Regions from separate parts of the Homo sapiens genome. Here region 1 is linked to region 2. Evidence: promoter capture Hi-C in 16 types of primary human blood cells and fetal thymus (Javierre and others, 2016). All regions are on one chromosome and are shown on one strand. Each heading gives the region's core, a stretch centred on a gene start or on the middle of the fragment in contact. The rest is flanking DNA. Distances are from core to core; before and after follow the strand shown. Region 1 overlaps CENPC (centromere protein C). Region 2 holds the start of GNRHR (gonadotropin releasing hormone receptor).

Region 1 (5,389 bases), core at 1-2,500, 240 kb after region 2:
AACGCACAATATCCCCGGCTGAGAGCACTGCACTCCTTCAAGGTAGAAAGTCAAGAGAAAAGCATCATAATATATTACCTAAGACTTTGGCAAATGACAAACATTCCCATAAACCTCACCCAGTAGAGACATCTCAGCCCTCTGATAAAACAGTACTGGATACAAGTTATGCTTTGATAGGTGAAACAGTAAATAATTATAGATCTACAAAATATGAAATGTATTCCAAGAATGCAGAAAAACCATCTAGAAGCAAAAGGACTATAAAACAAAAACAGAGAAGAAAATTCATGGCTAAACCAGCTGAAGAACAGCTTGATGTGGGACAGTCTAAAGATGAAAACATACATACATCACATATTACCCAAGACGAATTTCAAAGAAATTCAGACAGAAATATGGAAGAGCATGAAGAGATGGGAAATGATTGTGTTTCCAAAAAACAGATGCCACCTGTGGGTAAGTGTTTATATTAAATATAACCATGAGCATTATTCTACCCATTTTATGTTTTTTAATATCCTAACTTAGCTTTGGCAAGTAGGCAAAGTAAACCTAAATGAACAAAGAGCCTGAAAAGCCTATAGGTTCTTTTCTAGAACCTTTTTATTTTATATATAATTTAATTCTAACTCATATAGTTTTTGTTTATCTTGTGAGATGGCAGTATATATAGAGGGCAAAGTGAAAAGAAAAGGCTAGTAAACAAGTTAGTATCGGAAGATGAATAAGACAGAATGATAAATTATTTAGAAAATAAAAATGTTAAAAAAAATCCCAGGGTACCGTGGGACTATTTTTTATAGAGATAAAAGTCCATTCTCTTCCATCATTCACTCATGTGTCTAACAGTTGTTGAATGCCATACACTGCATTAGGCACTGTAATCACAAAAATTACTAACCCATTATTTCTACTGTTAACAAGATCATTCTGGTGGGTTCTGTAGAATAATAGATAATATACATACATGCATAGGATTAAAAGGAAGGATACAAAATTTTGATTTATCCATAATTTCTTAGGAAAAGACATATGAAGGAAGTATACTTGAAAGATGCGCTCTATAATTGTAAATATTAAACATTTTCTGAGTACCTGCTATATTCTACACACTAATTTTTACATATATTCTGTATCTAGATTGGTTAGTGAATATAATGCTCATTAATTACCATATCAGTTGTATTAATTTTCTATTGCTGTCATATGACAAGTTACTACACACTTATTGGCTTAAAACAACAAACATTGATTATCTTACAGTTCTGTGGGTCAGATGTCTCACTGGGATAAAATCAAGGTATTGGTGGGGTTTTCTTTCTTTCTGGTAGCTCTGGGAGGAAGTCTGTTTCTTTGCCTTTTCCACCCTCTTGAAACTACCTATATTCCTTGACTCATGGTCCTCCTCCACCATCTGCAAAACTAGCAATACCAGCCTTCTCATGTTGTGAATTTATCTTGCCTCTTCTTCCATCATCTCATCTCTCTGACCACAGCTTTTAAAAGAAACATAATTAGATTGGGTCAACCTGGATGATCCAAGATAATGCCTCTATTTCAGAGTTTATAATTTAATCACACTTTAAATCTCCTCTTCTTAAGTTGAAAAAAATCATTATTTCAAAACAGGAAAGCAGTAATTGCCTACTTTTACTTAGGACGTTATAGGAAGGAACTGTATTTTTTTTTCAGTTTCAGAAGATACTTATTTTTTTGGCTGAGGAGTATATAAGAGTTATCAAGCAGTGTGAAAATTTGCATTTAATAGGAAGTTAGTGCTTACTTCAGCAGCACATATAATTGACAGAAAGAGAACATGTGACTTTTAAAAATGGAGATGAAAAGGCCACAGGATAAATTTAAGAAGTTCCTGTAATTGACGGTTTTTTTATAATCTTGTGGTTTTCTGAAAACTCTTTTAGTAGATTGTGAATTGGTTTTATGGTTTTCTTTATTTTAGGAAGCAAGAAAAGTAGCACTAGAAAAGATAAGGAAGAATCTAAAAAGAAGCGCTTTTCCAGTGAGTCCAAGAACAAACTTGTACCTGAAGAAGTGACTTCAACTGTCACGAAAAGTCGAAGAATTTCCAGGCGTCCATCTGATTGGTGGGTGGTAAAATCAGAGGAGAGTAAGTATTTTTATTTAAATTGTGTTTGTTCATAGACAAAATCATTCTGTAAGGGGCATTATGTTTGATTTTATATTTCTATATAGAGAATATCATGAGGACCAAGTTAAATTGGGTCATCAAAAGGAATATTAAATCAATGGTAAAGATATTCCTTGAAGCGTTAATATATACAGTATTTTAGGAATAGGGATAATAGCTGTGGGAAAACAAAACCCCAAACCAGAAATCCCTGCTTTCATGGAGCTTGCATTCTAGTTGGGAAAGGCAATATAAATAATCCAGCTATTTTAATGTCCTGGCTGTGAGGGATACAAAGATTGATAATATGAGGTTCTGCCACCAAGGAGTTTATAATCTAAAAGATTATAGTTTATTACACATAAAAAAGTAAATTACTTGTGTTGGAGGTTCCCAAGACTACCCTCAGATTTGGTAATTTGCTAGGAGGACTGGGCATATAGTTGTACTCATGGCTGTGATTCATTACAGTGAAAGGATGCAGTGCAAATTCAGTAGAAAAAAAGTGCATGGGTTAAGTCTGGAGGAAATCAGCAGAAGCTTAAAGAGTCCTTTCCCAGTGGATTCCCACAGGAGCTGCTTAATTCCTCTAGCAATGAGTTGTGACAAATAGGCAAAATGTCTATTAGGGAAGCTCACTAGAGACTTAGTGCCCAAGATCTTTCCTGGGGGTGGTCACATAGGTACTCTCTATCTAGCAAGTACTACAATTCCAGACTCCCTGAAGGAAGGCAATATTTGCCTAAACCATATTTTTTGCATAAGCAGTTTAGGCCCACAACACCACGTTTGCCAATTAGGAAATGACGGGAACAATCCTGAAATTTAAGTTTACAGGGCTAACTTTGAAAGCAGGCCCTTTTAAGGGTAGTATACTCAGACCTGCTTTGCTAACTTTTTTCTGCACAATATGAAACATTTATTGTTTTGGGAGAATTGTCCCTTTTTAAAGAAAGTGATCCTGAAAAGATTGGTGGATCATAAGGTAGCATTCACATACACAAATACTATTGACTTTGGGGCATTTAGATTAATAAGTGAATGATTAGTACAACTATGGCATTGTATATGTGAGGCCTTATTGCTATGAATTATTAAATCATTGAGATTCTTGATGGATAGCAGCAAGTATTTATTTTGTTGCAGCCTTTGGATTTTGGAGTGAGATCTGAGTTCAAAGTATCACTCTTCCACTTTGAGTAGATTGCTTTGTTTAGTTTCTCATTCTGTAACATGATTACCTCATTGAGTTTTTATAAGGTTTAAATGCAATTAGCATAGTAGGTGGCATATGTTAGTATTGAAGTGTTAAATAATACTGTTACTGCTTTGGGGAACTCACTTTTCTGCCCCAGGTTGCCTGAAATGCTAAGTACTATGTGGCAGATGAATACATAAACAGATGGGTAAATAAATTCTTACAGAACTTGGATAAATGTGCTAGATCTCTGAAACTATCAAAAAACACTTATTTAAGAGTCCTGAAATAGATGTTGGATTTTTGATCAAGCTGGGAGTCGAAAAAGTGGAGGAATCTTTATATATCATATAGTCTAAACTCTCATCTGATGGAAGAAGAAACTGAAGTCTGAAGTTAAGAAGAACAACTTGACCTGCCCCCAGCCTGCCTGTCGTACGTGTGACACTGTTGCCCTTCCATATATATGAAGAAATGTATATGGAGTACTTGCCATGGGGCAGGAATGAGGTAAAGTAGGACCAGGACTAGGGTAAGACAATGAGACACTAGGGTGAAAAATTTAAGGCAGTCAGTCACAGGATTGTATCAGTTCGGGCTCTGTACTTGCACAGACCTGAAAATGAGTACCTTCTTGAATTTTCCAGCTGAGGCTACTCTTGCTTCACCATAGTCCTGCCCCTGTCATTAGGCATTGGGAATATACATAGATAAAATACCAATCAATTACTTGAGGTCAAGGAGTTGTTAGTCTGCTGGAGGAGAGAAGTAGAGATAAGTAAACAGTCGTATGTGTGATAGCAAGCTACCTAAGACTTGGAAATTAGGGAAAGCTTCCTGAAGGATGAACTAGGAGTTAGCTAAGTGATTGAGTGGAGTAAGGAGGAAGTTATGGAATGTTTTAAGTAGAAGTAGCTTGTGCAGAGATCTGGAGCAGAGAGCTTGATCTTTTCTTTCTTTAATTTAGTGTGCTTTAGAATTGTCTGGGGGGCCTATTAAGGCACAGGTTACTGGGCCCTGCTCTGCAAAGTCTTTGATTCACTGGGGTCTGAGGTGAGGCATGATAATTTACATTTCAAATTCCCAGATAATGCTGATCTTGCTGGTCTAGAGACTGCCTTTGGACAACCAGTGCTTTAGAGAAACTGTAGATTGTTCATTACTGATGGCTTTTTTTGGTTTGTTTGTTTGGAGGGGGGTTTTGGGAATTGTGGTTTATGAAATAAGCAAATCTAGATGTAGATATGAATTGATGTTGAAGTATTTGGACTTCATCCTGAAGCTATAGATAATAACTAAAATACTTTAATTAAGCAGAGTTGTAATGATCCAGTTTTTGTTTTCCAAAGGTGATTCTTGCAGCAGTGTAGGGAATGGATTGAAGAAAAACAAGGCTAGGGAGGGGGAGATTAGTAAAGAGACTGTTTTAATAATCCAGATATGAAATAATGAGGACTTCTACTAATGACAGGAGGGAGAGCTTGAAAGATTTGAAAGGCATTAATAAAGTAGAATTGATGGGATTTAGGGCGTGATTGTGGATAGGAGTAGTAGTCTTGCATGACTCAAATTTCTGATTTAGATATCTGGATAGAATAGGTAGTTGTATTTTTCATTAAGATAGGAAATAAAGCAAGAGAGGCAGATATAGGGGAGAGCAGTAGATGGATATTATAGGTGTCAGCATATAGATAGTAATTAAAGCTCTGGGTAGATAAGTCCGTCAATGAAAGTATATGGAGTGAAAAGCTGAAGCTGTCACCTTGGGGAATATCAGATATTAAGGATGGCCAGAAGGGCAGTGGGCAGAGCCAGAGAGTGTTTCTTGAAGCCTGTGACAGATTTGAAGGGCCTGTTTCATATATCTATAAACTGAAGAGCTACATTGTTTAAAGAATTTAATTTGGAAATAAATTTAGCCTGAGATGTGTGTGTGTGTGTGTGTGTGTGTGTGTGTGTGTGTGTGTGTGTGTGTATGTGTATATGTTTATATGCAAATATAAATGCTGTTGGTATTTCAGTGAGCCAAATCATCTGGA
Region 2 (5,370 bases), core at 1,986-4,485:
ACGGCCCTTCATTCACTAAGGACTATGGCACCTGGCTCATAGACCTTTCCACCCCAACTGCTACCAGAAAGTAGCATTGCATAGTAGTTAAAGACAGGAGCTCTGAAGGCAGACTGCATGAGATGTAACACAATTCTGTGGTGTCCTAATTAGGGAAAAGGAGTCAGGCTGGTGGGAGCAGGGGAAAGCAAAAAGAAAAAGCAGATAAGCTACAAGGACACATAGCCCTCCTGTGCAAATAACTCTCAATCTTCCTATGCCCAACTATCACCAGACACCTGCAAGTTAGCTCACTGCAACCTTGGCATTATCAGTACTGCACAAAGCCCTCTTCAGCATACAGCATAAACACTATCCTATAAAATCTCCAGCAAGCCTTTGTTTCTTTGCAGTCAGCTTCCCTTCCGCTGATCCTGCCCATTGTCTCCCTGGCAACGTATTTTCCTCCCTTCTCTAACAAATTTGCCTTTCTTTTACCTACAACGGTAAACCCTTTTGTCCCTGCACCTCGGGCCTAGATAGCCACCGCTCCCCCATGACAAACTCTAATATGGATCAGGTATGTAAATGTCTCTGCTTCACCTTCCTCAACCATAAGACGAAAATAATAGTACTGACTTCTAGGGTTGTTGTAAGGTCTAAATGTGTTAATACGTGTAACATGCTTAGAAAAGTGCTCGACACAAAGTAAGTACCCAATAAATATTAACTATGAGTAATATTATCAGTATTGACAGCACCTTCAAAATCTATATAGTTGACTCATCCAACAACTTAGATTCAACAACTTAGAGCTCCTCAAATGCGTCAAACATCATTCGCCCTCTACTTCCTCTACCGACTTTCATAGCCACACCCTGCACTTGAGGGCTTTATACCTTTCATGTTGTGTTGATAGCAAGGGTTTTCCAAATAGATTAACCTCCCTGAATTTTGATTGCCCACTATTTCCCAAATCCCTTCAAGGCATTCTCTGTATGCTACACAATACACTAAGTATATATAAAGAAAGGAGTATATTACTCCATTCTTTATATAGGTAAAGCCTAAACTCCTTTTCTTGGAATATAGGCTCTCCAGATCTGAAGTCTGCCTAATTATTTACACTTTTGCTTTCACATACCCTTTGAACTTTCTCACATTGTCTTCGTGTTTGCATGTGCTGCTCCAGCTTCTAAGCATGCCCTCCCTGTCCTCATACCCCATTCCCCAGCCACTTATTACGCTATATGCTGTAGTCCCATTCAGCTCGGTTGCAACCTCTTCCCTAATGAATCAGTCCATCATTAACAAAGAAAGGGAGGGAGGGAGGGAGGAAGAGAGGAATGAAAGGAGGAAAAGGGAAGGAAGGGGAAGGGAAGGGGAAGGGAAGGGGAAGGGAAGGGAAGGGAAGGAAGGGGAAGGGAAGGAATGGGAGGAAAAGGGACAAATAATGAATGATATGCTCTAATCTTTTTCCCCTAGATATAGAAGACAAAGAGCAAAATATACTTCACTAAAATTGGATTTTTACATAAATGTTCTTTCCTTTGTTTTTTGGTTGCTGGTCCACTTACAAACACTTTTCATATTTGTATGTCTTTCCAATGGTTATCCTGTTTTGTTCATTTCAGGCATATGGCCCTGATCAGATTAACTGACATGATGTATATGCAAAGCCTTTTGAGTTCTTCAGAAAAATAAATTATCTTATTCAAGACTGATTGCTTATAAGGAACTTATTATAGCTAATATAGTAGGCACAATTTTTTTTTTGTAATTCTCCTAGATGAGTCAGAACTTAGTTTTGACGTAGGTAAAAATTTTATGGTCACAAATCTCAGGTGTGAGAAAATCTCTTTCCTTGATACTCTATATAAATAGAGGATATAAATATTTCAAGTCTGGAAGTAGTGAGAGAAGCTGGTAATTCTGGACATATAGTGACAGTCAAAAAGGAGCTCAGGTACAGGACTGGTCTAAGCTGCTCAAGATTCAGGAGACAGCCAGTACACAGAGAAGCTGAGGAGATACATAAGATATATCTAAAACATTTATCTAACCTTCTGTGGTAACAAGCTCCTTAAAGGGGCTGGATGATGTTGTGTTCACTTTTTATCACCAGCAAAGGCTAAGATAATGTATATAGTAAATATTTAGTAACTATTTATTAAATAAATAAATATTTAAGACAGAATAAACAAGTATAATAAATGAACCAATAAGAATGCACCATCTAAGTCAAAATAGCCACTTTTATCCTTAACATTGTACCTGCTTTGGCTGCTGCAGAAGCAAACTTGTTGGCATTAGACAAATCAAGCTGGTGATTTAATAAATTCCAATGTAAGTCTTACCAGTATTGATGAATAACTATCCAGCACTCACCATGAAAGTTAAAGAAACAACACAGAAAAAGTTCCTAAGTGGTCCCAATTTGAAATGATCAGATAACCTATAAAAGAACATATTCATATTATACTAACATAAACACATATAAATGCACTTACAGCAGTTACACAGTATTCTCTTCAATAACTAGTTTCCTTATGCATTAATGTGTAATAACAGCAACTACAATATTTAGATAATTATAAAAACCAAGGCAATAATTTAAAAACTGATTAACCGTTTTACTCTAACTTAAGCATGGATTGGATCAGTAAGATTGATTAATAAATTTGAATGCAGTCAGTTGGATTGATTCTAATTTAAAGTTTTAATTTGTTGTAGAATAATTTTAAGTGAATATATTTGTCCAGTGTTCGAGTGCTCAACAGTGTGTTTGAAAAGGAAAACAAAGAAATGTTTTTGAGAAATGTGTTAATTCCTTAAGACAATGGATTTTAATTGGATCTAGTTGTTTTCATTTTTCTTCATTATCATTATACATCTGTATGTTGGACAGAACACTAACACTAAATAGTTTTTAGAAAAATTTTTTAAAGTTATTTAAATCATAATATCATGACTGACTTTTAAATTCAAAATTAGGCTGTGACTATCCTTCTTCACTTAGGAAGAGTGTTGTGAAAGCCAGACCATCTGCTGAGGTGCTACAGTTACATGTGGCCCTCAGAATGCATTTGGCCTGCTCTGTTTTAGCACTCTGTTGGATTACCAATACACAAAACAAGTTAACCTTGATCTTTCACATTAAGTATCTCAGGGACAAAATTTGACATACGTCTAAACCTGTGACGTTTCCATCTAAAGAAGGCAGAAATAAAACAGGACTTTAGATTCGGTTACAATAAAATATCAGATGCACCAGAGACACAAGGCTTGAAGCTCTGTCCTGGGAAAATATGGCAAACAGTGCCTCTCCTGAACAGAATCAAAATCACTGTTCAGCCATCAACAACAGCATCCCACTGATGCAGGGCAACCTCCCCACTCTGACCTTGTCTGGAAAGATCCGAGTGACGGTTACTTTCTTCCTTTTTCTGCTCTCTGCGACCTTTAATGCTTCTTTCTTGTTGAAACTTCAGAAGTGGACACAGAAGAAAGAGAAAGGGAAAAAGCTCTCAAGAATGAAGCTGCTCTTAAAACATCTGACCTTAGCCAACCTGTTGGAGACTCTGATTGTCATGCCACTGGATGGGATGTGGAACATTACAGTCCAATGGTATGCTGGAGAGTTACTCTGCAAAGTTCTCAGTTATCTAAAGCTTTTCTCCATGTATGCCCCAGCCTTCATGATGGTGGTGATCAGCCTGGACCGCTCCCTGGCTATCACGAGGCCCCTAGCTTTGAAAAGCAACAGCAAAGTCGGACAGTCCATGGTTGGCCTGGCCTGGATCCTCAGTAGTGTCTTTGCAGGACCACAGGTAAGCCATTATACACAAACTTATTTGGATATGGTGATCATAGATTTCCTATCTAAATTTGATATAAGGTCTTATCAAAGGAAGTACTGTATTACCTTTAAGAGCTTGGGTTCTGGAAGTCAGAGAGTGAAGTTTAATTCTGGCTCTGTTCTGTTACCTTGGGCAAACTTCTTAACCTCTCTGGTTTCAGTTCCTTTACCGATAAAATGTAACATGGGGGTTAATGCTTACTTAATACTGCTTTTGTGATGAATAAATAAATAAAGTAGCTCACATAATCTCTATTATGTAGCAAATGCTTCCCCAAAAAAAATGCGATTCTCAAACTTGACCTTATCTCCATCCTATTCTTTTATCTGTTTTTCTTTTTGTTTTGGTTGACATGGCTTTAATGTTTAGTTGAGATAATTTTTAGGAATTATGAAATTTGCCTAGGTAGAAAATATTTATAATGTTTCTTATTTAGGGTTTCTTCAGTGGAAATTTTAAGAATTCTGTCACTGCAGCTTAGAGAGAATTATTCTTTGTTAGTATGTTGCTCTGCAGTTTGCAGCTAAGTGGGACTGAATATAGAAGAAAAGTAAGACATCTTGGATGTTTGGAAATCCAAATATTTCCCTAAAGTTAGCTTGAGTTTTGCTGGAGGCAGCTTATTGAGAAAGCCATATGACTGACAGAGTAGGCACAGGCCCTCCCCACAGAGGGCAATTATCTTTCCAGGTTGCCTTCACCAGAAGCAGCCTAGTTAACTGACCTGCTGAACCTGCCATTTTAACAATCAGATCCCCGAAGAAAAGGACAAATTCTTGAAAATAACAAAGAATGTTAATAGCAGATGAACAAGTTTTCTCTTGCATTTAAATGTACTACATGATAAACCCAGGATACAAGGATGTGTCAAGAAATAAATCAGAATTAACTAGGATCCTCCAAAACTTGCCTCTGAAAATGGAAATTTATCTAGACTTTTTTTTACTGACCAGATGGTTAAAAAACAACAACAACAAAAAAAAACTGCCATGCAGAACTCACTATATAGCACAAGACACTAGAAAGCTGGATAACTGTTTTATCCCATCAATTTCTCACTTTAATATTTCTTTTGAATATGTGTGTGTTTCATAATAAGAATAATGGGAAAAACTAAAATGTTTTCATTTTCTGAAGAAAAATATATGATTTATTTCACAGTGATGCAATACATAAGAATAAGTTTAGCAAATATATCACCTGAAATGAGGTGATTTAGCTAAGGCTTATGCTCTTAAAATTTTCCACATTCTTTCTTTCCACTTTTGCACCTATGGTCCAAGTTACCTGGGAGGTTGGGAGGGAGGTTGTGGTGGGAGGATCACTTGAGCCCAGGAGTTCGAGACCAGACTGGGCAATATAGGGAGGCCCCATATCAACAAATTATTAAAAAAAAAATTGCTTAAATGCTGGTCATGATGACCCGCACCTGTGGTCCCAGCTACTTGGGAGGCTGAGGTGGGAGAATCGCTTGAGCCTGGGAGGCAGAGGTTGCAGAGAGCCATGATGCATCACTGCAACTGCACTGCAA

Evidence for each region. The method cuts DNA at HindIII sites, captures the fragments that hold promoters and counts their contacts. A CHiCAGO score of 5 or more calls a contact.
Region 1: a fragment that was not itself captured here is called in contact with the fragment with the promoter of GNRHR in region 2 in 1 of 17 cell types (total B cells); the score reaches 6.0 in total B cells.

The regions. Positions count from the first base shown.
Region 1 is chr4:67,509,144-67,514,532 of GRCh38, reverse strand. It overlaps CENPC (centromere protein C), which reads left to right. Exons shown (of 19, transcript NM_001812.4): 8 at 1-459; 9 at 1,964-2,131. Among named protein-coding and RNA genes, the nearest start is that of CENPC, 34 kb to the left of the region's middle. The HindIII fragment of the contact is 2,888 bases long and covers 1-2,694 here.
Region 2 is chr4:67,752,253-67,757,622 of GRCh38, reverse strand. GNRHR (gonadotropin releasing hormone receptor) reads left to right here and starts at 3,235. Exons shown (of 3, transcript NM_000406.3): 1 at 3,235-3,809. The coding sequence starts at 3,288. The HindIII fragment of the contact is 5,914 bases long and covers 1-3,652 here.